Regions from separate parts of the Homo sapiens genome. Here regions 2, 3, 4, 5 and 6 are each linked to region 1. Evidence: promoter capture Hi-C in 16 types of primary human blood cells and fetal thymus (Javierre and others, 2016). All regions are on one chromosome and are shown on one strand. Each heading gives the region's core, a stretch centred on a gene start or on the middle of the fragment in contact. The rest is flanking DNA. Distances are from core to core; before and after follow the strand shown.

Evidence for each region. Contacts are between HindIII fragments. The CHiCAGO score rates a contact against its expected background, and 5 or more counts as called.
Region 2: the fragment with the promoter of DFFA here is called in contact with the fragment with the promoter of MTOR in region 1 in 10 of 17 cell types (fetal thymus, total B cells, M1 macrophages and 7 more); the score reaches 9.7 in fetal thymus.
Region 3: a contact is called between the fragment with the promoter of MFN2 here and the fragment with the promoter of MTOR in region 1, in 7 of 17 cell types (fetal thymus, total CD8 T cells, total B cells and 4 more). The highest score is 12.1, in fetal thymus.
Region 4: the fragment with the promoter of KIAA2013 here is called in contact with the fragment with the promoter of MTOR in region 1 in 9 of 17 cell types (fetal thymus, monocytes, non-activated CD4 T cells and 6 more); the score reaches 10.8 in fetal thymus.
Region 5: the fragment with the promoter of NPPB here is called in contact with the fragment with the promoter of MTOR in region 1 in 5 of 17 cell types (endothelial precursors, naive B cells, total B cells and 2 more); the score reaches 7.1 in endothelial precursors.
Region 6: a contact is called between a fragment that was not itself captured here and the fragment with the promoter of MTOR in region 1, in 1 of 17 cell types (naive B cells). The highest score is 5.8, in naive B cells.

The regions. Positions count from the first base shown.
Region 1 is chr1:11,259,982-11,264,306 of GRCh38, forward strand. It overlaps MTOR (mechanistic target of rapamycin kinase), which reads right to left and starts at 2,570. Exons shown (of 58, transcript NM_004958.4): 1 at 2,464-2,570. RefSeq lists a silencer at 2,288-2,337 and an enhancer at 2,758-2,917. The HindIII fragment of the contact is 974 bases long and covers 1,688-2,661 here.
Region 2 is chr1:10,470,473-10,474,797 of GRCh38, forward strand. It overlaps DFFA (DNA fragmentation factor subunit alpha), which reads right to left and starts at 2,057. Exons shown (of 6, transcript NM_004401.3): 1 at 1,851-2,057. The coding sequence starts at 1,986. RefSeq lists enhancers at 1,526-1,625, 3,587-4,325. The HindIII fragment of the contact is 4,411 bases long and covers 688-4,325 here.
Region 3 is chr1:11,978,577-11,982,901 of GRCh38, forward strand. MFN2 (mitofusin 2) reads left to right here and starts at 1,868. Exons shown (of 19, transcript NM_014874.4): 1 at 1,868-1,908; 2 at 3,394-3,538. RefSeq lists silencers at 1,484-1,743, 1,914-2,153 and an enhancer at 3,610-3,709. The HindIII fragment of the contact is 7,841 bases long and covers 1-3,280 here.
Region 4 is chr1:11,923,468-11,927,792 of GRCh38, forward strand. It overlaps KIAA2013, which reads right to left and starts at 2,960. Exons shown (of 3, transcript NM_138346.3): 1 at 1,738-2,960; 2 at 1-22. The coding sequence starts at 2,770. RefSeq lists enhancers at 1,904-2,566, 2,567-3,230, 2,885-3,179 and a silencer at 2,815-2,884. The HindIII fragment of the contact is 9,969 bases long and covers 1-4,325 here.
Region 5 is chr1:11,856,979-11,861,303 of GRCh38, forward strand. NPPB (natriuretic peptide B) reads right to left here and starts at 1,967. Exons shown (of 3, transcript NM_002521.3): 1 at 1,724-1,967; 2 at 1,236-1,491; 3 at 486-693. The coding sequence starts at 1,855. The coding sequence ends at 677. RefSeq lists a silencer at 2,366-2,532. The HindIII fragment of the contact is 3,284 bases long and covers 489-3,772 here.
Region 6 is chr1:11,819,656-11,823,980 of GRCh38, forward strand. It overlaps CLCN6 (chloride voltage-gated channel 6), which reads left to right. Exons shown (of 23, transcript NM_001286.5): 6 at 3,040-3,146; 7 at 4,052-4,178. Among named protein-coding and RNA genes, the nearest start is that of CLCN6, 16 kb to the left of the region's middle. The HindIII fragment of the contact is 5,075 bases long and covers 1-4,325 here.

The DNA of each region.
Region 1 (4,325 bases), core at 1,320-3,819:
AGGAAGATAATAGTACCTAGTTCATGGGTTGATGTGAGAACTAAATGACTTAATACGTGTCAAAAAGTGTTTAAAACAGTGCAGGGCATATACTAAGTTCTTAATAATTGTTAGCTATTATTATTACTACTACTACTACTATGTACATGGCAAAATGCCAGGTAACAAATGTCAGGAGGTAGGGAAAGAATTAAAAATGACTAAGACTGCCCCTTTCCTCAAGTTCAGTCTAAAAAGAGAGATTATTATTCTACAGCAGCACTATCTAATGGAAATTTAGGCCGGGCACAGTGGCTCACGCCTGTAATCCCGGCACTTTGGGAGCCCAAGGTGGGCAGATCACCTGAGGTCAGGAGTTTGAGACCAGCCTGGGCAATATGGTGAAACCCCGTCTCTACTAAAAATACAAAATTAGCCAGGCGTGGCAGTGCGTGCCTGTAACCCCAGCTACTTGGGAGGTTGAGGCAGGAGAATCACTTGAACCCAGGAGGCAGAGGTTGCAGTGAGCTGAGATTGGGCCATTGCACTACAGCCTGGGCAACAAGAGCAAAACTCCATCTCAATTAAAAAAAAAAAAAAGAGGAAATACAATGATCCACAAATGTAATTTTAAGGCTGCTTGTAGCCATATTTTAAAAGGTAAAAAGAAACAGGTGAAATTAATTACCTAAACCAATATATCCAAAATATCATTTCAACATGTTATCAATATTTAAAAAATTGATATAGTGTCCATTCTTTTTTTTTAGCGAGTCTTCAAAATCTAATGTGCATTTTACACTTACAACAATGTCAATTTGGACTAGTCATTTTTTTTTTTTTTTTTGAGACAGAGTCTCGCTCTGTCACCCAGGCTGGAGTGCAGTGGCATGATCTCGGCTCACTGCAACATCCACCTCCCGGGTTCAAATGATTCTCCTGCCTCAGCTTCCCGAGTAGCTGGGACTACAGATGTGCAGCACCACGCCTGGCTAATTTTTGTGTGTTTTTAGTAGAGATGGGGTTTTATTATGTTGGCCAGGCTGGTCTCAAATTCCTGACCTCAGGTGATCTGCCCGCCTTGGCCTCCCAAAGTGCTGGGATTACAGGTGTGAGCCACCATGCCCGGCCTGGACTAGTCACATTTCAAGTGCTCCACAGCCACATGTGGCTGGTGGTTCTTGTACTGAACAACGCAGTTCTACAGGGGACTAGCTCTTCAAATGTAAGCTAAAAGAAAGTAATTAGTTCCTGGCCGGGTTTGGGAGGCCGAGGCGGGCGGATCACGAGGTCAGGAAATCGAGACCATCCTGGCCAACACGGTGAAATCCCGCCTCTACTAAAAATACAAAAAAAAAAAAAAATTAGCCGTATGGTGGCGGGCGCCTGTAGTCCCAGCTACTCGGGAGGCTGAGGCAGGAGAATGGCGGGAACCCGGGAGGCGGAGCTTGCAGTGAGCAGAGATCGAGCCACTGCACTCCAGCCTGGGCGACAGAGCGAAACTCCGTCTCAAAACAAAACAAAAAACACCAATTAGTTCCTGAGCTCATTCCCTCATTCCTCAATTATGCCCACACTGCCATGGGTGTAACATACACCTATCCCAAGTATGTTCAGCTTATGCTACAAAACCAATTTCTCAAAATTCTTATTTTTGAAAGAATTTGTAAGGCACAGAGGAAAAACCTGGGAATAATTGGTTTTGTAAAGCTTTCAAATACTCCACTGCCAAGAAGAAGACTGCAGAAAGAAATGTCATCCTTTAGGGGAGAAGAAACTTAAGAATCCCTGCTAAGAAAACTACTCCAGTTTGTGTGTATGTGTGTGCGTCCGAAAGGGGGGAAGGTGGCTGGCAAGGGATTTCTATTCTCAGGAAAGAACCAGTGTATCTTTATATGATCTGAGGCCCACAGGCCATCTGCTCCAGACTGAATTCAATTAAACTTAGGATATCTGAAGTCAAATATCCTAATGGTGTTGATAGGGCTTAAGGAAGTTAAGATTGGATGGGGGAAACAGGGATGGGGCTGGGGGAGAGGGAGAGAAGATGTACCCCAACGATGTAACCAAGCTCAGTTTCGGGGACTGGATCTCTGAGAGGTGTCCACAGTGGAGGACAAGGGGCTGACACGGACGCTAGTGTTCCCTGGGGCAGAGATACACAATTTTTATACGTGGCTCAAAAGAAAGGGTGGCTGTGACAGGCAAAAGACCCAAAGGGCAATACCAGAGCTGATGGGCCGGCCTTCGGGCGGACGTACCGCGGGCCGAAGGGTCCAGGGGTCTCTTGGGGGTCCCGGGGAGGTGGGCGTTGCCTCGAGGGGTGGGAGTCAAGGCCTCAGACGGTGCCCAGGTCGTGGGGCCGGCAATGTGGGGACCCCACGTCCCAGACGGGCGGCTTCCCCTGGCCCCCCCACGGGCAGGCTGGCCGTGGGTCTGGACATTACGCCGCCCTAGAGGGGTCGTGCCAGGCCCTAGACTCACCGCGCGGCTTCGGCCAAGGCCTCAGCTGCCGCCGCCAGCACCGGTACCGCCGCTTCAGGCCCCCTGCCCCACCGCCCGCCTTCCCCGCTGTCCTCTAAGCCGGGAGCGAGGGAAGGAGGGTTCCCAGCCCTGAGGACCAATCGACAGGTATAGGGAGAAGATGGACTGAAAAACAGGCCAATAGTAATGAAGAAGAGAAGCTTCAGGACCCGGCTTCTCCAGGGGGCGGGGACTGTTCAAATAGACAAACCACGCGGCCAGTGGCAGGTGAAAACAGGCTTGGGTCCACTCGGGAGAACCAATCGGTCGTGAGTTCACCTCAGTCACTTCCACTCACACATCCGGTACGGCGCTGCTAGGATTCCCTTCTGCATCCGGGCTGTGAACTCAAGGAGTCCGGTGTCTGGGTATCTCCGGATCGCAGCGAGAGCGGCTAGCAGAGGTTCGCGACCCCTCCCGGTGTAATTCTGAGAGGAGAATGTGAGCGATGCCGGTGCCCAGGAATTACTGCATCAAAAGACGTTTCGGGCTAGCGCTCTTTATGGATCCTGTGATATCTCTTTTGTTACAATTAATAAGCATTTGAAAATGTTTTTAATTAGATTCTCTAACTTTCCCAAAATTATCCAACTCAGGATCACTCCAGAGAAACCATAGCCAAGTTTTAACCAAAAGAGCTAGTCATAAATAAAAATTTTCAAAGCAACATTATTTTTTAAAAATCCTTTCAAAAAATCAATAGCTGGCCCGGCGCGGTGGCTCACGCCCATAATTCCAGCACTTTGGGAGACCGAGGCAGGCGGATCACCGTAGGTCAGGAGTCGAGACCAGCCTGGTCAACATGGTGAAATTCCCCCACCCGCACCCCCCGTCTCTACTGAAAATACAAAAATTAGCTGGGCATGGTGGCTCACGCCTGTAATCCCAGATACTCGGGAGGCTGAGGCACGAGTATCGCCTGAACCCGGGAGGTGAAGGTTGCATGCACCGAGATCGTGCCACTGCACTCTAGCCTGGGCAACAGAGCAAGCTCCGTCTCAATACATACATACACACACACACACACACACACACACACACACACACACACAACCAAAGAAAATAAATAACTGCTGGTCACGGTGGCCCACGCACTTTGGGAGGCCAAAGCAGGAGGATCGCTTGAGGCCAGGAGTTCCAGACCAGCCTGGGCAACATAGCGAGACGATGTCTCTACAGATTAAAAAAAAAAAAATCAACAGCAAAAGTGGATTTGACTACATTTTTTTTTAATCACAGTGCTATTTGTCATAGTAAACACTGAAAATTCCTAAATATTTCAAAGTAGGAGTCCAATAAAATATGATGCATTCGTTTGGGCGCGGTGGCTCACACCTGTAATCCCAGCACTTTGGGAGGCCGAGGCGGGCGGATCATGAGGTCAGGAGTTTGAGACCAGCTTGACCAACATAGTGAAACCCCGTCTTTACTAAAAATACAAAAAAAAAAAAAAAAAGGTAGGCGTGGTGGCAGGTGCCTGTAATGCCAGCTACTCAGGAGGCTGAGATAGGAAAATCCCTTGAAGCCAGCAGGCGGAGGTTGCAGTGAGCCGAGATCGCGCCACTGCGCTCCAGCTGGGGTGACAGTGCGAGACTCCATCTCAAAAAAAAAAAAAAAAAAAAAAAAAGATGCATTCATAATAAGAAAAATACATAGCCATTAATAATTATAATTTAGAGCCTAGCATGGTGGCTCATCCCTGGAATCCCAGCACTTTGGGAGGCCGAGGCAGGATTGCTTGAGGCCAGGAGTTCCAGACCAGCCTGAGCAACATAGTGAGACCCTTGTCTCTACAAAAGAAATTTAAAAATTAGCTGTGTGTG
Region 2 (4,325 bases), core at 807-3,306, 790 kb before region 1:
GGAGTGCCCAGGCGCTATCTGGGCTCACTGCAAGCTCCGCCCCCCGGGTTCACGCCATTCTCCTGCTTCAGCCTCCGGAGTAGCTGGGATTACAGGCGCCCACCACCACGCCCGGCTAATTTTTTTGTATTTTTAGTAGAGACGGGGTTTCACCGTGTTAGCCAGGATGGTCTCGATCTCCTGACCTCGTGATCCGCCCACCTCGGCCTCCCAAAGTGCTGGGATTACAGGTGTGAGCCACCGGACCCGGCCCTCAGGTGTCCTCTTAAATTCTCCTATGTGTAAAAATGTCAAAAAATACACCAAAAAGGCCAGGCACGGTGGCTCACGTCTGTAATCCCAGCACTTTGGGAGGCCGAGGCGGGTGGATCACAAAGCAGGCAATCGAGACCATCCTGGCTAACATGGTGAAAAACCGTCTCTGCTAAAAAATACAAAAAATTAGATGGGCGTGGTGGTGGGCGCCTGTAGTCCCAGCTACTCGGGAGGCTGAAGCAGGAGAATGGAGTGAACCCGGGAGGCGGAGCTTGCAGTGAGCCGAGATAGCGCCACTGCACTCCAGCCTGGGTGACAGAGTGACACTCCGTCTCAAAAAAAAAAAAAAAAAAAGAAAATGCTTTTTGTTCTTTACAGTATCTTCCTTAGCAGCTTCTTTTCTAACCTATGGGAAAGTATAAAAGAAGTGGAAGCTTCTATCAGTAGCTTTTCATATCATTATCATTGGCGGAGAGGCTTTCTCCAGGACAGGTCTGTACTATTCCATTTAGTGATAGCAATGCTTCAAATACTAACGGGACTGGAGTGATCAGAAATAGCCAAGAGACTACAAATATCCTTCAGCGGTGTTGTCTACCACCCAATAGAACAGCAAGGCATGTATGCGCTGGACTGCAGAGAACACCAGCCTCTGTGCCACGCACATCCAGCCACGGCACTGAAGGGGAATTAGAAGTAAAGTAATCTAATGTCAGGAAAAAAAATACATAAATGCTTATATGCAAAATCCATGTTACCAAAGCATTTATAATGCTTTGGCTGTTCATGGGTCTCTGAAAATTTCCATATGATTTCTGTTGGTGACTGAGAGGAAGCAACTGTGCCCTCTGACACACACTGTGACTACATGCCTGGGGCTGGCTCACACATGTAACCTGTAAAACTTCTTTGGGTAAGCGATTTGTTGCTACTGGCTAATAAGACTTGTAAGTCACTTAAATATATCATCTTATTTGAGAGAACCAACAACCCTTTGAAGCAGGGCTATAAATATTATACCCAATTTGCTGATGAGAAAACTGAGGGTTGAGAGCTGGTTAAGTGCAAGGCCAAGCAGCTGGTAAAGGTATGGGGCCGGGCTCGGAACTTCCGTCGGCTCCGTCACTTACAACTCACGTTCCTTGTCTGGACCTCCAGAAATGGTCAGTAGCAGCTCCCTCTTTCCTGCATAGGTTCCTGCCAGAGCGGACGGTGGAAACCCCTCCCCACACCGCCGTGGGCTCAGCTGGGGGTTCTTGTACCATCTGAGTGTGGCGGAGTGGCAGGAACCCAGTGGGGTCCGTTTGGTCCAACATCGAAGTGATTTCAGGCAAGAGACCTAAGCCGAGTCTGGCTTAATTTGCACATTGCTTCCTGGCTGTCTTCCCACCACCGTGGAGTCTCACACGAGATTAATTACGCTCAAGCGCCTTAAATCTGTAAATCGCTATGCCCACTCGGACCGTTTCTGTCCCAAGCCTCCACCCGAGATACAAGAATCCCCAAGTCGCCTCTCCTGACCCCGCCTCGCCCCCGCCGGACGTCCTCACCCGGCCCTGGCTCCCCCACACCCTCGCCCGGGGTCCCGAGCCAACCCTTGCTCCTCAGGTCTTCGAGGCAGGAGGCGGCCACGCCGTGCTGTTCGCGGCTGTAGTTGCGGCGCAGCAGACACGGCTTTAGAGTCCGGATCTCGCCAGATTCTGGTACCCCGGCGTCCCCGGTCACCTCCATCCTCCACAAGGTGGGACCTGCCCACCTTCGAGAAGTCGCGGGAGGCCGGAGCGGCGGTCCTTCTACTCGACCCCCTTCCGCAGCCTGCCGGGAGATGTAGTTCGTTCCGCAGCAAATCACACGTGAGACCAGGGCACGCCGGGAAATGTAGTTCTAGTTGCCGCTAATCACGTGTGGCGTCGAAGCATGCCGGAAACTGTAGTCTCTGGGTTTAAAGCCGCTTTCGTTCTATCGCGCGATTCAGCCTAGGAGTTGTTTTTAACTTTTAGGAGCTGCATTCGCGCGTTCAAATATAAGGCCAATAGAGACTTATTTTGCATGACGATGCACACGCATGTATACTGTATTGAATTTTTAGAGCATTCCTATTCGCATATGAGATGCATAATGCTAATACAGACACCCGCATGTTTCCACCCATTCTATTTCCTGCTTCAACTGTGCAAATTAGTTTGGGGTCTCAGAACAAAACGCTTAAATAAATATAGTAAGCATTAAAGTCTCAAATGCATCGGAGAGGAAAGGGGAAATGCGACTCGGCACTGTTGGAGATTGTTCAGATGCCTCTTGACAACATATTCATCTTTGTTTTAATACTGCTACTATGGAAAAGTTTGTTTTTTTCCTCCTGAAAAATAAACATCTAAGATTAAAAGAATAGTAATAAAAATGATCAAAAAGTTCCTCTCTTAAAAGAGGGCATTTTATGTAAACTAGAAGTAATTATCTGCTCATATTTATTCATTCGGGGGACACTTTCCTTCCTTGTTTCTTTTTTCTTTTTTTGAGACAGCGTTTCGCTCTGTCTCCCAGGCTGGAGTGCAGTGGCGCGATGATGGCTCACTGCAGTTTTGATCTCCTGGGCTCAAGCAATCCTCCCACCTCATATTTTGTTTATAAAAACGTGGGCAAGGGCCCCGGGGGCGGTGGCTCACCCCTGTAATCTCAGCACTTTAGGAGGCCGAGGCGGACAGATGATCTGAGGTCAGTAGTTTGAGACCAGCCTGGCCAGCATGGTGAAACCCTATCTCTACTAAAAATACAAAAATTAGCCGGGCGTGATGGCGCACGCCTGTAGTCCCAGCTCTTGGGAGGCTGAGGCAGGTGAATCGCTTGAACCCGGGAGGCGGAGGTTGCAGTCGGCCCAGATCGCACCATTGCACTCCAGCCTGGGCGTCAGGAGCAAGACTTCGTCTCAAGCAAAAACAAAAACAAAAGCAAAAACAAACAAAAAAAACGTGGGAGAGGAAATTGGATATTATCTCAAGAAAAGTTTAGACATTTAAAACAGCGTTTAGTAGGAGGAATTATTCATTAAGTCATCCCTTTTAAGCAGTCTATATTGATCAAAACACAACTATAATAGGAGCTGGCGGTTAACTCTAATGTATGTATCCTTTTTCATATAATTTCATTTTTTATTTTCTTATCTTATTTTTAGACAAGGTCTCGCTCTGTCGCCCAGGCTGGAGTGCAGTGGCATAATCATAGTTCACTGCAGCCTCAACCTCCTGGGCTCAAGGGATCCTCCTGCCTTGGCCTCCTAAAGTGTTGGGATTACAGGTGTGAGCCACTGCTCCCGTCCAATATTTAATTTAAAATCTAACAATTAAAAAAATCTAACAATTCAACCAGTGTAAAATAATGACGTTTTGTAGAAGCCTCTTCTCTTCAAAATGCCCCCTTTTATGTTCTCCCAATAGACCTGCACACTTATCCGAGTCCTATCCCCATAATACTGTAATTGTAAGTGTGTTTGGCCTGGGCGTGGGAGTAGGGATTGAGTCTTGAATGTTTTTATTTCAAGGCCTACCAAAGTCCCTAGCATATAGTAGGCACTCAATGAATGGAACTGAACTGATGTCTAAAAATTAATTTCCAAGTTTCTTCGCATTCATCCATTGGCAAGTCCCTAAATGTGCCCATGGCACTGTGGGGATGGGCAGAGATTAACTCAATAAGAATAATATGGGCCGGGCGCTGTGGCTCACTTCTGTAATCCCAACACTTTGGGAGGCCGAGGCGGGCAGATCACCTGAGGTCGGGAGTTCGAGAGCAGCCTGACCAACATGGAGAAACTCCATCTCTACTAAAAATACAATGTTAGCCGGGCATGGTGGCGCATGCCTGCAATCCCAGCTACTCGGGAGGCTGAGGCAGGAGAATCACTTGAAACCGGGAGGCTGAGGTTGCGGTGAGCCGATATCGCGCCATTGCACTCCAGCCTAGGCAACAAGTGCGAAACTCCGTCTCAAAAAAAAAAAGCAAAACCAGAATAATACACATATAACAACGCAAAGAAGATATAGACTTGGGATCTTCCTGGAAAGCAGAGTCTT
Region 3 (4,325 bases), core at 618-3,117, 720 kb after region 1:
TGAGTCTGCGTGTGGCCCCACAGTCCACAGTCAGACCCGCGGGGCACTAGGCTACTCAGAGGGCAGTGTGGGCAGGACAGCTCCCTTTGGCCATCGTCATGAGACTGATAAACCAGTCACTTCTATATCAGAGTACTGATTTGCCTCTTGAGGTTGTTTGTGGCAATAAATTGAGGTTGTTCTACCATGGTTATAGAGCAGCACCATCCCACAGAATTACAGTTTGACCCACAAATGCAAGCTACTTATGTAATTTTAAATTTTCTAGTAGCGACATTTTTAAAAAGAAACAGGTGCAATTAATCTTAGTAATGTATTTAACCCAAATGACCCAAAATATTATCACTTCAACATGTAGTCAGCATATAAATAGTAATGGGCTAATAGCCCTGCACTGTGGCAGGTACCTGTAACCCGGCATTTTGGGAAGCCGAGGCAGGAGAAGATTGCTTGACTCCAGGAGTCCAGGAGTTCAGGACACCAGCCTGGGTAACAAAGTGAAATGCTTCCCCATGTCTACAAAAGATAAATACTAGGCATGGCTGCAGCATCTGTGGTCAGCTACTTGGGAGGCTGAGTGAGGTGGGAGGATTACTTGAGCCCAGGAGTTCGAGGCTGCAGTGAGCCGTGATTGCACCACTGCACTCCAGCTTGAGTGAGAGTGAGACTCTGGCTCAAAGATAGATTTTTTTTTTCTTTTTTGAGACGGAGTCTCTGTTGCCCAGGCTGGAGTGCAGTGGCATGATCTCGGCTCACTGCAACCTCCACCGCCCGTGTTCAAGCGATTCTCCTGCCTCTTCCTCCCGAGTGCACTATCATGCCTGGCTAATTTTTGTATTTTTAGTACAGACGGGGTTTCACCATGTTGGCCAGGCTGGTCTTGAACTCCCGATGCACCCGCCTCGCCCTCCTAAAATGCTGGAATTACAGGCTTGAGCCACCGCGCCCGGTCGATATTTTTTTTTCCTAAAAATTGAGATAGTTTAACAGCCTTTTTTGTCCTAAGTCTTATAGCGCATCTCCGTTTGCACTGGCTCAGGACTCGAGAGCCACACGTGGCTAGTGCCTACTGTTCTGGCGCGCTCAGGCTTGGAGCCTTCTCTGCGGAGGCCAAGTCCTGCAAGGGATCTGTTTGCTGCGGTTTCCTAGTAGTGTCTGCCGCATCACTGGGGCCCGGTGATCTGGGTAACCATGTGAGCTTGGGTAACCTCTCCTCTCCCTCTCCTGGGACTGCTGTGGACGTTAAATACAGCGGTGGATGTTAGAGACGCAGTTCAGTCACTGGCATTGATTCGCCGTTGTTGCTGCTCTTCTTTCCTCAAAGGCGACTGAAGGGCAGCAGGCCCATGCTCGCTTCTGTCTGCCCGATGAGTCACTTCACCCTAGGCCTGGCCCTCTAGAGAACACTCCTCTAAGATTACAGAATGCAAATCTGGATTCCAGAGCTGGCAGAGGCCCCAGGGTCAGGCTCTAGGACAACCGGCGAAAAAGCGGGAACCTCTACTCCACGCCCTTGGTTTTTCGCCCCTTGACAGCTTGAGGCTCCGCCCCGCTTTGCCCCGCCCCCCCAGCTCCGGCCGACGCCCACCGGAACTACAGCCCCCATGATGCAGTGGGAGTCCGAGCCTCTGCGTCGTCCGCTTGGGACGCGCCGGCGGAGGAGTGGCGCGCGGAGGAGTGGCGCGCTGAGACGCCGCTCGAAGCGCCGAGTCGCGGGGCAGCAGAGGCGTAAGGAGTAGGCGGGGCGAGCCGGCTGGGCTCAGGGTCCACCAGCTCACCCGGGTCGAGGGGCAATCTGAGGCGACTGGTGACGCGCTTATCCACTTCCCTCCTCCCGCCTCCCCCTGGGGTGGCGCTCGCTGGTGACGTAGTGAGTGTGATGGCCGCCGCGAGGCCGGGAAGGTGAAGGTGAGAGGGCGAGCAAGCCGGGGTGGCGGGGACTGGCCCGGCCCGGCCCGGCGAGTCCTGAGCAGCTCGGCGTGGGCCGACGGGATTCTGGGGCCACGGGGGTCTGGGATGCAGTCAAGCGGGGTCCCCACTCTCCGGCCTCGCCGCCGGGCCCTCCCCGGCCCTGAGAGGAGGGGGCGGGCCACGGGACCTGGGACTGGTCGGTGGGGTCCCCTGTAGCTTCTCATCGCCCCCGCCTTTCCACCCTTCACGGCCATGTTCTACCCCTGCCCCTTCTCTATTTTTCATCCTGTCTTCATTTTGCCAGCATTTACTCAGCACCTGATAGGTGTCCACGTTCACCGCGGGAGCGCCCTGCCATCCCCACTTTGGGCAGTTACTGCCTTCTCGTTCAGCCCTGTTTACTTATATGACTTCTCACCGGACTGTAAGGCCCTGGAGGGCAGGACTGTTTCTTATCCATTTCTAACGTGGCGCCTGACACACACAGAGAAGGCACACAGAAAATGTTGAATAAATAGCTGTTAAGACGCACGAAGGCAGAACTGCCCGTTACCCCCTCTCGTAATCCTTCATTGCCCTCTTTAAATTCTCAATCATCTCTCTCTCTTCTACCCAGAAAAGGGCTCTGGTTATCTCTTTTCTACCCAGAAAAGGGCTCTGGTTATCCGCCTCTGGTGTCCCAAGGTTTGGGGCTTGGGGGAGGAAGGCAGCTCAATGTAGTTAAAAAAGGAAGGAGGCCGGTCGCAGTGGATCACACCTGTAATCCCAGCACTTTGGGAGGCTGAGGCGGGCGGATCACCTGAGGTCAGGAGTTGGAGACCAGCCTGGCCAACATGGTGAAACCCCGTCTGTGCTAAAACCAAAAACTAGCCGGGCTTGCTGGCACACGCCTGTAATCCCATCTACTCAGGAGGCTGAGGCAGGAGAATCGCTTGAACCCGGGAGGCGGAGGTTGAGCCGAGATCGCGCTGCTGCACTCCAGGAGCTTTGGAGTCAAAGGGAGCTAATATTTCAGATCCCAGCTTAGACAAATCTTCAAGTATTCCAGCCCTCTGTCCCACAGAATAGAGAATTAAGTGAGATACTTTACAGTAGCTGAACACATTGGCTTTCAGTCAGTTCTTCTGTTCCTCAATAGTCAGCTGTTCCACAGTCCTCAAGCCCAGTTTTGTTCCTAGTTTTGCTCTGTCCTCTTCTCCCCTCTCTGGATGTACCTTTCCCAGGGCTCCTGCAGGGACCTCCGTGGTGCCTCAAACCCGCACATGGCGGAATACGTGTGCACAGTCAGGATTGGTCCCACACCTCTGCGTTTTTTTCCCCAGGGCACTTCCTCACATGCCAGCGCAACTCCCCAATACCTCAATGAGTAAGCTTCCCTCAGGGATGAGTTTGTTTGGCTTGAAACCTGATTAGACATGTTTTGTACACCAGTGTTTTTTTTTTTTGGACACCGGATCCATCTCCCTTTTCTTTTCTAATAAGTCAGGACTGGTGGAGTCAACACAGTCAATCAATAGCCAACCTCAACCTGAGACAGGACAGAAGAGAACTCAGAATCTTTTTGTCTTTTGGACTTCAGCCATGTCCATGATGCCTACCCTGTGAAGATCTCTCACCATCCAAAAAAGTAAGTAGTAGCTGTGACTTCTGGCACCCTGGATTTGAGCTGAGTGGACAGGGGTGTGCTCTCCTGGACCTCTGGTGGCAAGTCTCTTGAATGGCATCCTCTTTGTATAGAGCCACAGCTTTCTAACTTGTGTTGAAAAACTACCGTATCTTTTACTTCCGTGAAGGATTTCGCTGGTTGCTTAGAGAGCCTGTTTAAAAGTTGACAGTTCAGAAGTGGCTGGGATCTCTTGGGCTCCCTGAAGAGTTAGTCTCTGTCTCCCTCATTTGGTCTCTGCTGTGCTGGCTCTTCCCCATCTCGGCCCAGCACAGGTTGGCTCCTTGTCACTGCTCTTTTAAGACTCTGCTCTGTCCCCTTTACCCTGTATACTCTTTTTGTTTCGATTTCTCAGCTTCTCCTCTTTTCCAGTTGTGCCAGCAGACGATCCGTGGATCCATTTTATTTTCCCTGCTAGGAGTTGCTGTACATAACACTGGGTAAGGAGGTGGTGTGGATTCAGGGACTGTGCTTGGGATCCAAACACACCTTGCAGTGAATTTTGCTACTGCTGTCTCTACACCCAAGATACCTAATACTCCTCAACGAATAGCCTAGGTTGAGGCAAAGCTGTTGACCACCTTGGAGGGCTAATAGCAGTTTCCATTTAGAACTGGGTTCATTTCTGGTCTTAGGTTAATATTTATTAATACTGTGCCCTGGCACTTTTTAGGGGTAGGGGCAGGAGAGTACCAGAAAGAGTGGGCTTTTCCCTAAAGTGTGATCCTCGGGATTTTAAAAGCTATTACAC
Region 4 (4,325 bases), core at 1,710-4,209, 660 kb after region 1:
GTGATCTTCTTCATTTCCACTCCTGCAACACCATGAAAGCGGCATGTTAAGGGGGAAGGACAGCTGGGAGGCAGAGCATACGAAATAAAGACCAAGGGCAGCAGAAGAGTGAGGTGTTGTGCCTTAATGATAAAGACAGTGGTGCCCATCTCCCTAAAGTATAGAAGAAAGTCAGCCTGTCTTGTTTACACGACCAACTTGAGCCTGTGGGCCTGAAATCTAGAATCCTGTTAAAAAGCAGCGGGGCCTGGTGCCAGAGCCCAGAGGAACACAGACTTAGCCAGGACTTGGCACCAACCCTATGGTCAGACATCCTGCGCCAGATCAGTCACCAGTGCTGAGGCCAGTCTCAGGCCACTTCTCCTCTCTGTCCTTTCTCTCTCCAGTCTTGTAGCTTTATGTATGTATGTATTTATTTGTTTATTGAGACAGAGTCTCACTGTGTTGCCCAGGCTTGAGTGCAGTGGAACGATCTCAGGTTACTACAGCCTCCGCCTCCCGGGTTCAAGTGATTCTCCCGTCTCAGCCTTTGAGTAGCTGGGACTACAGGTGCAGGCCACCACCCATGCCTAAAACAGCCCTGGCAGAAGCATTCAATAGACACTTGCTGAATAAACACGTGCTGGGCCCCTTTGCTACTGATGGATTCAACAGCCCTAAGATTTAAAAACATACACACACACAACTTTGTTTCTGTGAAGATGACCATCCTCTCGCCGGGCGCGGTGGCTCACGCCTGTAATCCCAGCACTTTGGGAGGCCAAGGTGGACGGATCATGAGGTCAGGTTAAGTTTTGTATTTTTAGTAGAGACAAGGTTTCGCCACGTTGGCCAGGTTGGCTTGAACTCCTGACCTCAGGTGATCCACCTGCCTCAGCCTCCCAAAGTGCTGGGATTACAGCGTGAGCCACCGCGCCCAGCCAGCACATTCTAGCCTAAAAAGATGCCTTATTTTAATTTTAATTTTCACTTTTCTAATGTCTGTCTTCCTCCCAACCAGAATTTAAGCAAGCACCATGAGAACAGGAACTCTGGTTCCCATCTGCACCCCCCCATGCATAGAACAGCCCTGGCAGAAGCATTCAATAGATACTTGCTGAATGAACTCAACTCTCTGAGCAACCAAACACAAAGGTTCAGACAATTGGAACCCTGGAAACCAAAACCCCTCTCTCATCCAGAACAGGATTTTCTTTTCTTTAACAGTCAACGAGAGGAGAGTTTTCATCGGGCGGGAGCATCTCAACCTGCTAAAAGGGATTCTCCAACCTCCCTGTGAACCAGTTGCAGCCACAACTGCCAGGACGCACCTCAGCCTAGCAGGGGTTATGTCAAGAAGCCCACGTCTGTCACCAGGCCGACTGCGGTGCTGAGCAAAGAATCAGGGGATCCACCTGCTGGTTTCACCTCTGCAAACTGACTCTAAAACACTTCACTCTGCTCACATCAGGCCCCATCTACCAAAACAAGTAACAGAAAGAATTGACCTTTACACTCAATTGTCCACTACAGTCTCATAAAAACCTTCTGAGGTAGGCGTTATTGTTATTAAATACAGGCCCAGAGAGATTAGGCGACGAATCCAAAGGTCGCACAGACACTAAGCAGTTGAGCAGATTCAACCACTGGTGAAACGCCAAGCCCAAGTTTCAACCACCCCACCATCACCTTCAGTGTCACCTCTGCAGACTTGGGAGGGACATATCTAGGGTGGACCAAGCGCTGGCCAGGACTCACCTGGGCTGAAGAGCTGAGCCCAGAGGAGCTGGTGGTCTTGAAGCAGCTCCGCCGCTGGCATGTCCAAGAGCTCCAGCATTTCCTTCCGTGCCAAGTCCTGCAGCGCCTTGAGCTCCTTGGCTGCTTTGCTTTTGAGCACCTGGGGGTTAATGGGGCCAGAGACGTGCACCACCCACAGCACCGTCTCATCCAGCTGCGTCTTGGGAGCCACTTGGAGGCGGTTCACCAGCTTCTTGGCGGCCACCACCACCAGGTGCACCAACCCAGTGGGCGTAGGCGGGGACCGGCCTGAGTAGAGGAGGAACTGATGGTCTCCGACCTTCTCCAGGGTACTGGTGAAGGCCTTGGGGGCTGGGCCGGCAGTGGGCCCCACAGTCTGCAGCGCGGCCACGCGCTCCGTGGGGTTGTTGAGCTGGATGCGCTGCAGGTAGACGTGGGGTCGGCCCCTGTGCGCCAGAAAGTCCTCTTGCAGCAGCACGCAGTCGCGGCCGGACCCCGCGGCAAGGCCAGAGACGGAGGCGGGCCCGGGGCCGGCGGCCACGGGGCCAGGACCTGGGGACCCCAGCTGCAGGCAACGCACGCGGCGCAGAAGCCCCTCCCGCAGCAGCAGCACCGCCTCTCCAGCTTCAGCCAGCGCGCTCAGCGGGCGCAGCTGCACGAAGGGCACAAAGTCCGGCGCCACGGCGGGCTCCCGCTCCCCGGGAGTCACCCACAGCCGATTGGCAGCCACGTCCAGGGCCAGGAAGCCGTTGGCCACCAGGGCCGGCACTCCAGGACCCAGCGGTACCACCTCACCGCGCTCCCGCAGGCCGCGCCAGGCGCGGGTGGCCGCCTCCAGGCAGGCAGACGGCTCGGCGGCGCCCGGCTCACCGCGGGACCAGGGCAGCAGGTGCAGGCCGCCCGCCGCCCGCCGCGCGCCGGACCCCCCAAACCACAGAAGCAGCAGCAGGAGGCCAAGCAGGCAGAGGAGGCGGCGGGCCCAGCTGCTCGACAGCAGTCCCGGCAGCCCCTTGAGCCGCTGCTGCAGCCACATCGGGCCGCCAGGCGCGGGCAAGGGTGCGAGGGCGGCCGCCGGGCCCGCCGCCCAGCCCACCGGCCCGGCCGCCCGCGCCTCACTGCCCGGCCCGGACCGCGGCGCCCACCCCGGCCCCCGCCGCAACCGCCGCAGCAGCCGCCACCCCTGCTTCCTCCTTCTTCTCGGTGGCCTCCAGCCGTCAAACGACGCCGGCGGTCAAGCGTCGCCGTGTCTTTTACGACAGATGGAAAACGGGAGGGCGGAGGGAGGAGAGAGAGCAGGCCGGAGAGAAGGGGGCGGAGCCACGGCGAGGGCGGGACAAAAGCTGCCGGGGGCGGGACCACTCGTTCCCAGGCCGGAAGAGTGAAGTCCAGTGGAGTTAAGTGCAGGGGTCTGGGGAGGACTGGAAGCATCCAATTCACTCGTGAAAAAAACATCGAGCCAGCCAAACCGAACACGTGTTGGGCCCCTTTGCTACTGATGGATTCAACAGCCCCAAAATTTAAAAACATACACACACACACACACAACAACTTTGTTTCTGTAAAAATGACCATCCTCTCGCCGCGCGCGGTGGCTCACGCCTGTAATCCCAGCACTTTGGGAGGCCAAGGCGGGCGGATCACGAGGTCAGCAGTTTGAGACCAGCCTGACCAACATGGTGAAACCCCATCTCTACTAAAAATACAAAAACTAGCCGGGCGTGGTGGCGCATGCCTGTAATCCCTGCTCCTCAGGAGGCTGAGGTAGGAGAACTGCTTGAACCCGTGAGGCGGAGGTTGCAGGCTTGCAGTGAGCCGAGATCACGCCACTGCACTCCAGCCTGGGCGACAGAGTGAGACTCTGTCTCAAAAAAAAAAAAAAAAAAAAAGACTATCCTCACTGCAAAAAAACACTTGGAACAATACGAAAAAGTGGAGGAAAAAAAAAGGAGAGAGAAGAAGAGGAAGAAAGAAGAAGAAAGGAAAAGGGAGGAGGAGGGGAAGGGGAACCACCAGAGGCCAGGAGTGGTGGCTCACGTCTGTAATTCCAGCACTTTAGGAGGCTGAGATGGGCAAATCACTTGAGGTCAGGAGTTCGAAACCAGCCTGACCAACATGGTGAAAACCTGTCTCTACTAAAAATACAAAAATTAGGCTGGGCACGGTGGCTCACGCCTGTAATCCCAGCATTTTGGGAGGCCGAGGCCGCCAGATCACGAGATCAGGAGATCGAGACCATCCTGGCTAACACGGTGAAACCCTGTCTCTACTAAAAATATAAAAAATTAGCCAGGCGTGGTGGCAGGCGCCTGTAGTCCCAGCTACTCGGGAGGCTGAGGCAGGAGAATGGCGTGAACCCGGGAGGCGGTGCTTGCAGTGAGCCAAGATCGCGCCACTGCACTCCAGCCTGGGTGACAGAGGGAGACTCTGTCTCAAAAAAAAAAAAATAAATAAATAAAAATAAAAAAATAAAAATGCAAAAATTAGCTGGGCGTGGTGGTGGGCGCCTGTAATCCCAGCTACTTGAGAGACTGAGGCACGAGAATCGCTTGAACCAGGGAGGCAGAGGTTGCAGTGAGCCGAGATCGCGC
Region 5 (4,325 bases), core at 717-3,216, 600 kb after region 1:
AGGCTCCTTTGCAGGATGACCCCAGGAATTGGAGTTTCAAAGCTGATATTTGGGGCAGGATGGAGGGCTCACCCCGGTATGGGAATGTAGATGAGCCACACCCACACACACTGCCCCCAGTCGTTGACATTTTAGCTGAGACCTGAAAGCAATAATCCCCAGGGAGAGTGCTTTAATGGTGGAATTCCAGGCAGAGCAAGGACGAGTGGAGAAAACGGCTGGATACGTGCCCTCAGGTTGCACACGTATCCTGCCCTGCTTTGAAAAGCAGTTTCTCCCAAGTGCCTCAAGTGCTTGAGATATTCAATAACATTTCAGAGCATTAAAAACTCTGAAAGAAAAGAAAGCCTGCTACCTCTGAGGCCACATCCTCATCCCACCATGAAGATGCCTTGAGATCACAGGGCTTTGTGGTTTTAGTTGGGTTGGTTTCTTTGAAATGAGGGATTATTTTTAATGCGCCAAGACAAATCAGTTTCAAAAGATAAAGCTTATAATGTTGACTTTATTTCACCGTGGAAATTTTGTGCTCAAAGGTAAGAAACCATCTTATATAAAACAATCAAATAAATACATAAATACATTAAAAAAATGAGTCACTTCAAAGGCGGCCACAGGGTTGAGGAAAAAGCCCCTTGTGGAATCAGAAGCAGGTGTCTGCAGCCAGGACTTCCTCTTAATGCCGCCTCAGCACTGTCAGGGAAAGAGAGAGGGTGATGATGGTTAGGGTGGGAGATGGAGGCAGGGGCTGAGCTTACCTCATCGTGTGCCACCCACCACCCTGTTAGTCATCAGACGTTTGAGGCTTAATGCAACTCTCTGAGCCTCAGTTTCCTCATCTGTAAATTGGGGATTATCATTGCTCTGGTGATCCTGCTCTCTGCCTTTGAGACTATAGACAGTTTAGAGGAAACCAGGAGGAAATGTTTGGTTCTCTTTCTGCACCACTGGGGGGCTGCCAAATGATAAACAGACCCCCAAAGGAGATTCTGCCCCTTTGATAAGAAGTAGGAGGTGGGGAGAAGGTATTGTGGGCATGGTAATGAAATAAGCCCACATTTACTAATTCCACAAAGGCACCCCTTGGCCCTGAAGGCTGTTAACAAGAGGAAGCGATGTCCAGGTGACCTTTTCTCAAAGAGTGTGGTTCCCAGAGACAACAAACCCCAAAGTGACTCTAACAGTGTCACACACTGGAATGGGGGAAGGCGGCCGGGGTGGCAGGGGGTGCTTACCTTTGCAGCCCAGGCCACTGGAGGAGCTGATCCGGTCCATCTTCCTCCCAAAGCAGCCAGACCCTTGCACCATCTTGGGGCTTCGTGGTGCCCGCAGGGTGTAGAGGACCATTTTGCGGTGCCCACGGATGCCCTCGGTGGCTACCTCCCGGGACTTCCAGACACCTGTGGGACGGGGGCTCTCCTGGAGGGGCTCCAGGGATGTCTGCTCCACCTGCAGCTCCGACAGTTTGCCCTGCAAATGGTTGCGCTGCTCCTGCAATGAATGGGGGCGTCCAAGCCTCAGGGACCCACCCCTGGGCTCACCAGCCCTTCATGGCACCCAAGTGAACCGACTGCCTTGGGTACAGGGTCAGGGCACCCAGTCTCTCCATTTTCTGATTCCTTTATCACTAATTCCAAAGGAAAGATGAGGGCCTCTTGGGACAGCAGGTGAGGACCCTTTCATTGCTGCTGTCCAATCCCCCTGAGCTGCCCTCCGCTCTCACCTGTAACCCGGACGTTTCCAAGTCCGAGGCTGAACCGGGGCTGCCCAGCGGGTGGGAACGACCTCCCAGGAAAGCCAGATGCAAGAAGAGCAGGAGCAGGAGCGCCCGGGAAGGTGCTGTCTGGGGATCCATGTCTCTGGAGGGACTGCGGAGGCTGCTGCTGCTGCTTCTGCTGCTGCTGCTGCTGCTGCGATGCGTCCGGGTTTGCTTCCCACCTGCCCTCAGCCTGCGGGGTGCTCCTCCTGGCTCCTCGGGACACCGTGGCCTTTTATCCTGGAGCTGAGTGTCGGGCCTGCCCTGCCATGCAGGGTTATCTCTGATTTATCAGCCACATTCCGGGCCTCTGAGATCAGGGCCCGGGAATGAGCCCCTCCGCGCCTGCGACGTGGGAGGTGGAGACCGGGCAGAGCCGACCTTGTATAGAAATGGGCCGGGTCGGGCCGGGGGGCAGGAACGCGCTGGAGACACAGACAAGTCCCCGTCTCCCGCTTCTTCCTTTCCTGCAAATGTCCAGGTGTCCTAGGTTGGCGCTTTCTTCCTGCCTCCCCACCCCACCGTTGCTGGAAAAGGCAGGGAGGACCCCGGCTTTCCGAGGACCGACGTGAGCGCGGGGAGCACGGGGTGACTCACAGCGAAAACAGCCCCGGCCAAGACCCCGCCACCCGCGGCGCCTCTCCCCTCCCCGCGCGAGTTCCCTGGCCCGCACGTAGCGCAGCACCTGCTCGCCGCTGTGCACCCTGCCTGCCTGCGGGTCCTCGGGGGCGCCCTGGCCGCTGTCCGTGGTGCTGATCACCCCGAGGGAACTTGGAGCAAACTCTCAAGAGCTGCTCTCTTCAACGGGATTTTCAGGCCAGAAAGACCTGCGTGGAGCAAGGACAAGAGACCTCCGAGACCTTTCCCTATGCTCTCACAATCCGCCATCTTATAGTCCTTACAGCAACGGGATGCTGATTCCCCAGTGGCAATTCATTAAAAGCCTGGGTATGACCAGGAACTTCTGGAATGCTGACCCTTCTTTCACTCCTTAAAGGGAAGAGCAGATTTCGCTGGAATTTTGAGAGATAGGGTCCAGTGATGACGAAGTCACCCAAGAATGCCTTATATGTGTGTCCTCCACGTGTCAACACCTCCTCTCCCCCACCAAGCCAACACAGGATGGAAAACAAAAGGATAGGCTGGGCATGGTGGTTCACGCCTGTAATCCCAGCACTTTGAGAGGCCGAGGCGGTCGGATCACGAGGTCAGGAGATCGAGACCACGGTGAAACCCCGTCTCTACTAAAATTACCAAAAATTAGCTGGGCATGGTGGCAGGCGCCTGTAGTCCCAGCTACTCGGGAGGCTGAGGAAGGAGAATCACTTGAACCCAGGAGGTGGAGGTTGCAGTGAGCTGAGATCACGCCACTGCACTCCAGCCTGGTTGACAGAGAGCGAAAAAAGAAAGAAAGAAAGAAGGAAAGAAAGAAAGAAAGAAAGAAAGAAAACAAAAGGATGGCTGGAATGATGGTTATCTATTTGCTGGGATACCAGAGATATGGGGATTTCCCCTCTCCCAGTGCCTCCTTCATCTGACCACCCATGATCTAATTATCATTAGCAGGTGGCCTGGTGATTAGAAGTGAGACTTTGGAGAGAAATGCCCCTGAGAAGAGTCATAGCAGCTTAAATACCCCCCTAAAGCATATATGACTGATGTCACTCCCCTTCCAGAGAATTGGTGTCAACAAGCAGCAGGCTGGAGGAGTGGAGCTGTCTATGAGGGGAGAAGAGTTACAGCAGAGAAGGGCAGCAATAAGAAACTGGGACCTCTAAGCAGATCTTGCCTAAAAAATAGCATCTGCCCCTGAGGTGAGAAAAGCACGGTTATTATTCCTCACTTCAGAGGAGGAAATGGTGTTCATGAATTAATCTACTTTCCAAAAGTCACACAATTGACACATGATAAATCCTGGATTCTAACCAGTCTGATTAGTCTAGCCAGCAGTCTGATTCCAGACCTGAAGCTCATAATCACTGCCAGGGTGATCACAAGGTGTTTCTACAAAAAGCAAGCTTAGGTGAATCCCGTGTCATCTATGAAGGCTCTGGGAGCTGTGCTGTGGGGGATGTGCAATTCTAGTGGTGACTGTGTGTGCAGGAGAAAGAATGGGAAGTGGCTCAGATGAGCATTTTGCAGATGAAATATAAATGGAGGTGGGTGGGTAAGGGCTGTGTAAAGACACCAGTGCTGGAAATGTTCTGGGGGGCTGGGGTAGTTTTGTGTGTGTGTGTGTGTGTGTGTGTGTGTGTGTGCGTGCACATGAGCATGCCACAGTAAGAGTATCAAAAGGCTAAGAGGAAGCTAAAGAGGTAAGAAAATTCAGCCAAGTGCAGAGGGGAGTCAGTGGGCGAGAGGCTGCTGAGGGTGCAGAAAGCCCCTCATGCTGAGTACCATGAGATAAAGGGTTCAGAGCAAGGCAGGATTCATCAACCAGCACCATCAAAAACTGACTCTGCATCTCGCCAGAGCCTCACTTTGCTCTTCGGCAAAATGGACAGTCCTTGCAAGGACTAAAAGGAAAAAAATAATATCTGCAAAAGCCCGTGGCACTGTATAAAGGGCC
Region 6 (4,325 bases), core at 643-3,142, 560 kb after region 1:
CGCTTATTAGCTATTCAGCTTTAATATTTCTAATGATCACTGAAGGACACAAAAGAAGGACTTTAATAAGCAAAGACATATACCTATGTTTGTGGTTGATAAGATTACAGATGCCGCAAAGATGCCTGTACTCCCTAATCTGTAAATTTAATGTAGTTCCAATCAAAATTCCAATAGAATTTGTTGTGGAACTCAGAAATTCTTTGTAAATTTGTGTAGAAGAGTAAAGGGCCAAAAGCAGTCAGTATAGTTCTAAATGACAAGAAGGTGGACTTGACCCTGTCAGATATCAAGTCTTATAAAATTAACAAGTTTGGGGAGTTAGGGAAAAAAAAGTCATAAAATTTAAGATACAGTCATTGAAATTGGTCATATTGGTGCAGGAATACCTAGACAGTGGAAAATGATAGAGAAGCAGAAGCTGGTCCTCACATACATGGAACTTTGGTGAATGACAGTTAATATTACAAATCAGTGAGGGAGTGATGAATGATTTAATAAAAGACGCTGTGTTATTTAATAAATAAAAGATACACATCTCTGTAGTCCCAGCTACTTAGGAGGTGAGCCCAGGAGTTTGAGGCTGTAATGCACCATGACTGTGCCTGGGCAGCATAGCAAGACCCTGTCTTAAAAAAAATGATGCTGGGACATGGGTGATCCATATGGAAAAATAGTTATATTCCTATTTCATACTATAAATAAGATAAATTCCAGATGAAGATGTAAATATGCAGAACAAAACTTCGGGAGACTATATGTTGTCAAGAGTGGGGAATAATTTCTTAAAACTCCAGAAGGCACAGACTATAAGAAAAAACATCAATGGGGCCGGACACAGTGGCTCACGCCTGTAATCCCAGCATTTTGGGAGGCAGAGGCAGGCGGATCACAAGGTCAGGAGATTGAGACCATCCTGGCTAACACGGTGAAACCCCGTCTCTACTAAAAATACAAAAAAATTAGCTGGGCGTGGCGGTGTGCGCCTGTAGTCCCAGATGCTGGGGAGGCTGAGGCAGGAGAATGGCATGAACCTGGGAGGCGGAGCTTGCAGTAAGCCAAGATCACGCCACTGCACTCCAGCCTGGGTGACAGAGCAAGACTCCGTCTCAAAAACAAACAAACAAAAACATCAATGGCTGGGTGCAGTGGCTCATGCCTGTAATCTCAGGACTTTGGGAGGCCGAGGCAGGCAGATCACCTGAGGTCAGGAGTTCAAGGCCAGCCTGGCTAACATGACAAAACCCCATCTCTACTAAAAGTACAAAAAATTAGCTGGGCATGGTGGCGGGTGCCTGTAATCCCAGCTACTTGGAAGGCTGAGGTGGGAGAATCGCTTGAACCCGGGAGACAGAGGCTGCAGTGAGCCGAGATCGCGCCATTGCACTCCAGCCTGGGCAATGAGAGCAAAACTGTCTCAAAAAACAACAACAAAAAAAAAAAACAAACAAAATCAATAAATTTGACCACATCAAAGTACATATTGTATTTATAAAGACAAAAACTCCAAATAACAACAATAAAACACCATAAATAAAGTGAAAACAAGTCCACAGCCTGAGAGAGGTTATTTACTATGCATTTAAGAGGCAGATAATTAGTATCCAGAATACAGGAAGAGGCTGGGCGCGGTGGCTGACGCCTGTAATCCCAGCACTTTGGGAGGCCGAGGCAGGCGGATCACTTGAGGTCAGGAGTTCAAGACCAGCCTGGCCAACATGGTGAAACCCTGTCTCTACTAAAAATACAAATTGAGCTGAGTGTGGTGGTGTGCACCTTTAGTCCAGATACTTGGGAGGCAGAGGCAGGAGAATCACTTGAACCCAGGAGGCGGAGGTTGCAGTGAGCCGAGATTGCAACACTGTACTCCAGCCTGGGTGACAGAATGAGACTCTGATTCAGAACAAATAATACAGGAAGAACTCCTGCAACTCAATCAGAAAAACAACAGATGGTCCAATGGAAGGAAAACGAGCAAAGGATGTGAACTGGAATTCTCAAAAGAGAAAAACTGGCCAGTAAACCTCTAGAAAAAGGAAGGTGCACATTCCTGTGACTCATACATTCCTCTTAGAAATTTGAACCGTAGACATGTACAAAGGTGGTAATTATAGCTTTATGATAGCAAAAAGCTGGAGTCACCAAATGGGAGAATGGAAAAATTATGGTACATTCATATGGTATCATTTTAGACATCATGTCATTTCTGTAGATTGTAAAATAAAAATTTTAGACAAGTGAAAGTGAACGAACCACAGAGTTGTGTGTATCAACATGGCTAATTCTCAAAGACTTAATGTTGAGAAAAAAAGAGCAAGTTACAGAATATACAAGTGCCGTGTACAACAGTGTGGACACTTTTGAAATACACACAATAATTTCAGGTTAGTGGTTTCTCCCAGGGGAGAGAGGAAGGAAAACTGTTTTTTTTTTTGTTTTGTTTTGTTTCTTAAAATGGTACTGAATGTTTTCTTTTTTAAAAATACCTGGAGCATATATGGCATGTTGTTGAGATTTGTTAAAGCTACAGTTGTGAGGGTATGGGTATTCGTTACTTTTTGTAATGTTTGAAGTATTTCCTAATGTCAAAGGCATCTCAAACAATTTTTTCTTTTTTTTAAGAGATGAGGCCTCACACTGTTGCCTAGGCTGGAATGCAGTGGTGCAATGACAGCTCACTGCAGCCTCAGCCTCCCAGGCTCAAGCGATCCTCCCACCTCAGCTTCTTGAGTAGCTGGGACCATAGGCATATACCTTTTGTACTTTTTGTAGCGACATGGTCTCACTACATTGCCCAGGCTGGCCTCCAACTCTTAGGCTCAAGTGATCCTCCTGCCTCAGCCTCCCAAAGTGTTGGGATTACAGGCATGAGCCATTGCACCCAGTCATCTCAGGCAGTTTTTAAAAAATTTTTATATATAGAGAAAAAGTGCACTCAGCAGCCAGCATGATCCAAAGGAGAAGCAGCTGCACCCTCTCAAGTGATGACGGGGACACCCCTCGGCTGATGAACAAGTTTCCTTAACCCAGTTTCCGCAGCGGTGGAGGAGTGCAGCCAGAAAGGCTGCCTCGCTCTGTCTCTCCTTGAACTCCTGGGTTTTAACCTCACCTTTGTCTTCCTGGCAAGCCTCCTTGTTCTCATTGAGGTGAGGTGGTTTGGATTCACCTGCTCGCTTAGGAGGTTTTAGAGTCCCGCACTCCTTTTCCCCACCTCCTTCCAGAATGTCAGGAAACTGAGAATGCAGATTCCTGCAGAAAGTGGCCTCTTGTTCACTAAAGGTAAAGGTTTCACCTCTGGTGAGATTAAAGAAGAAAGGCCTCCCAGGTGATGCTCATTCACAGGGAACTTGTACAGATTCTGGGGGGAGGAAAAAAGGGGGAAAGGGCTGAAAACAAAACTGTTGGGTGCCATGCGCACTACCTGGGTGACAGGATCATTCATGTCCCAAACCTCAGCATCATGCAATATACCCTCGTAACATACCTGTACATGCAATCCCTGAACCTAAAATAAAAGTGGAAATTATTTTTCTTTAAAAAGTGCAAGTCTGGCCACTTTGGGAGGCCAAGGCGGGCAGATCACCTAAGATCGGGAGTTTGAGACCATTCTGACCAGTGTAGAGAAACCCTGTCTCTAGTAAAAATACAAAATTAGCCGGTAAAAATACAAAATTAGCCGGGCGTGGTGGCGCATGCCTGTAATCCCAGCTACTCGGGCGACTGAGGCAGGGGAATTGCTGGAACCCAGAAGGCGGAGGTTGCAATGAGTGGAGATTGTGCCATTGCACTCCAGCCTGGGCAACAAGAGTGAAACTCTACCTCAAAAAAAAAAAAGAAAAAAAAGTGCAAGTCCTCCCATTGCCCCTCAGACCTCCTGAGTCAGATCCTCTGGAGTGGGGCCCAGCAGCTGTGGTTCTGCAAGCCCTCCAGGTGACGCTCACGCTGCTAATGAAGGTGGCCAGCTCTCCCTCTTCCGCCGCCCAGATTGTTGAGGGTAAGCCAGAGAACCAATGGATTTCGAGTTATGGGTGTGCCTGCTCTCCTCCATCAGCCGGTGGCAGCAGGTTCCGGGATACCCGAGGTCAAATGCTATCTGAATGGCGTAAAGGTGCCAGGAATCGTCCGTCTCCGGACCCTGCTCTGCAAGGTCCTTGGAGTGCTGTTCAGTGTGGCTGGAGGTAAGAAGGGTCCAACTTGTATCCTTCAAATACTCAAAGGGCAGAGACGACAAGAAGCATGATGTATTTCAGTTATTAGATTTGGACTGCAGGGCCCAGCCTCAAACAGCTGATGTCTGCACTTTTTGTTGATGGGCTGTTTTTAAA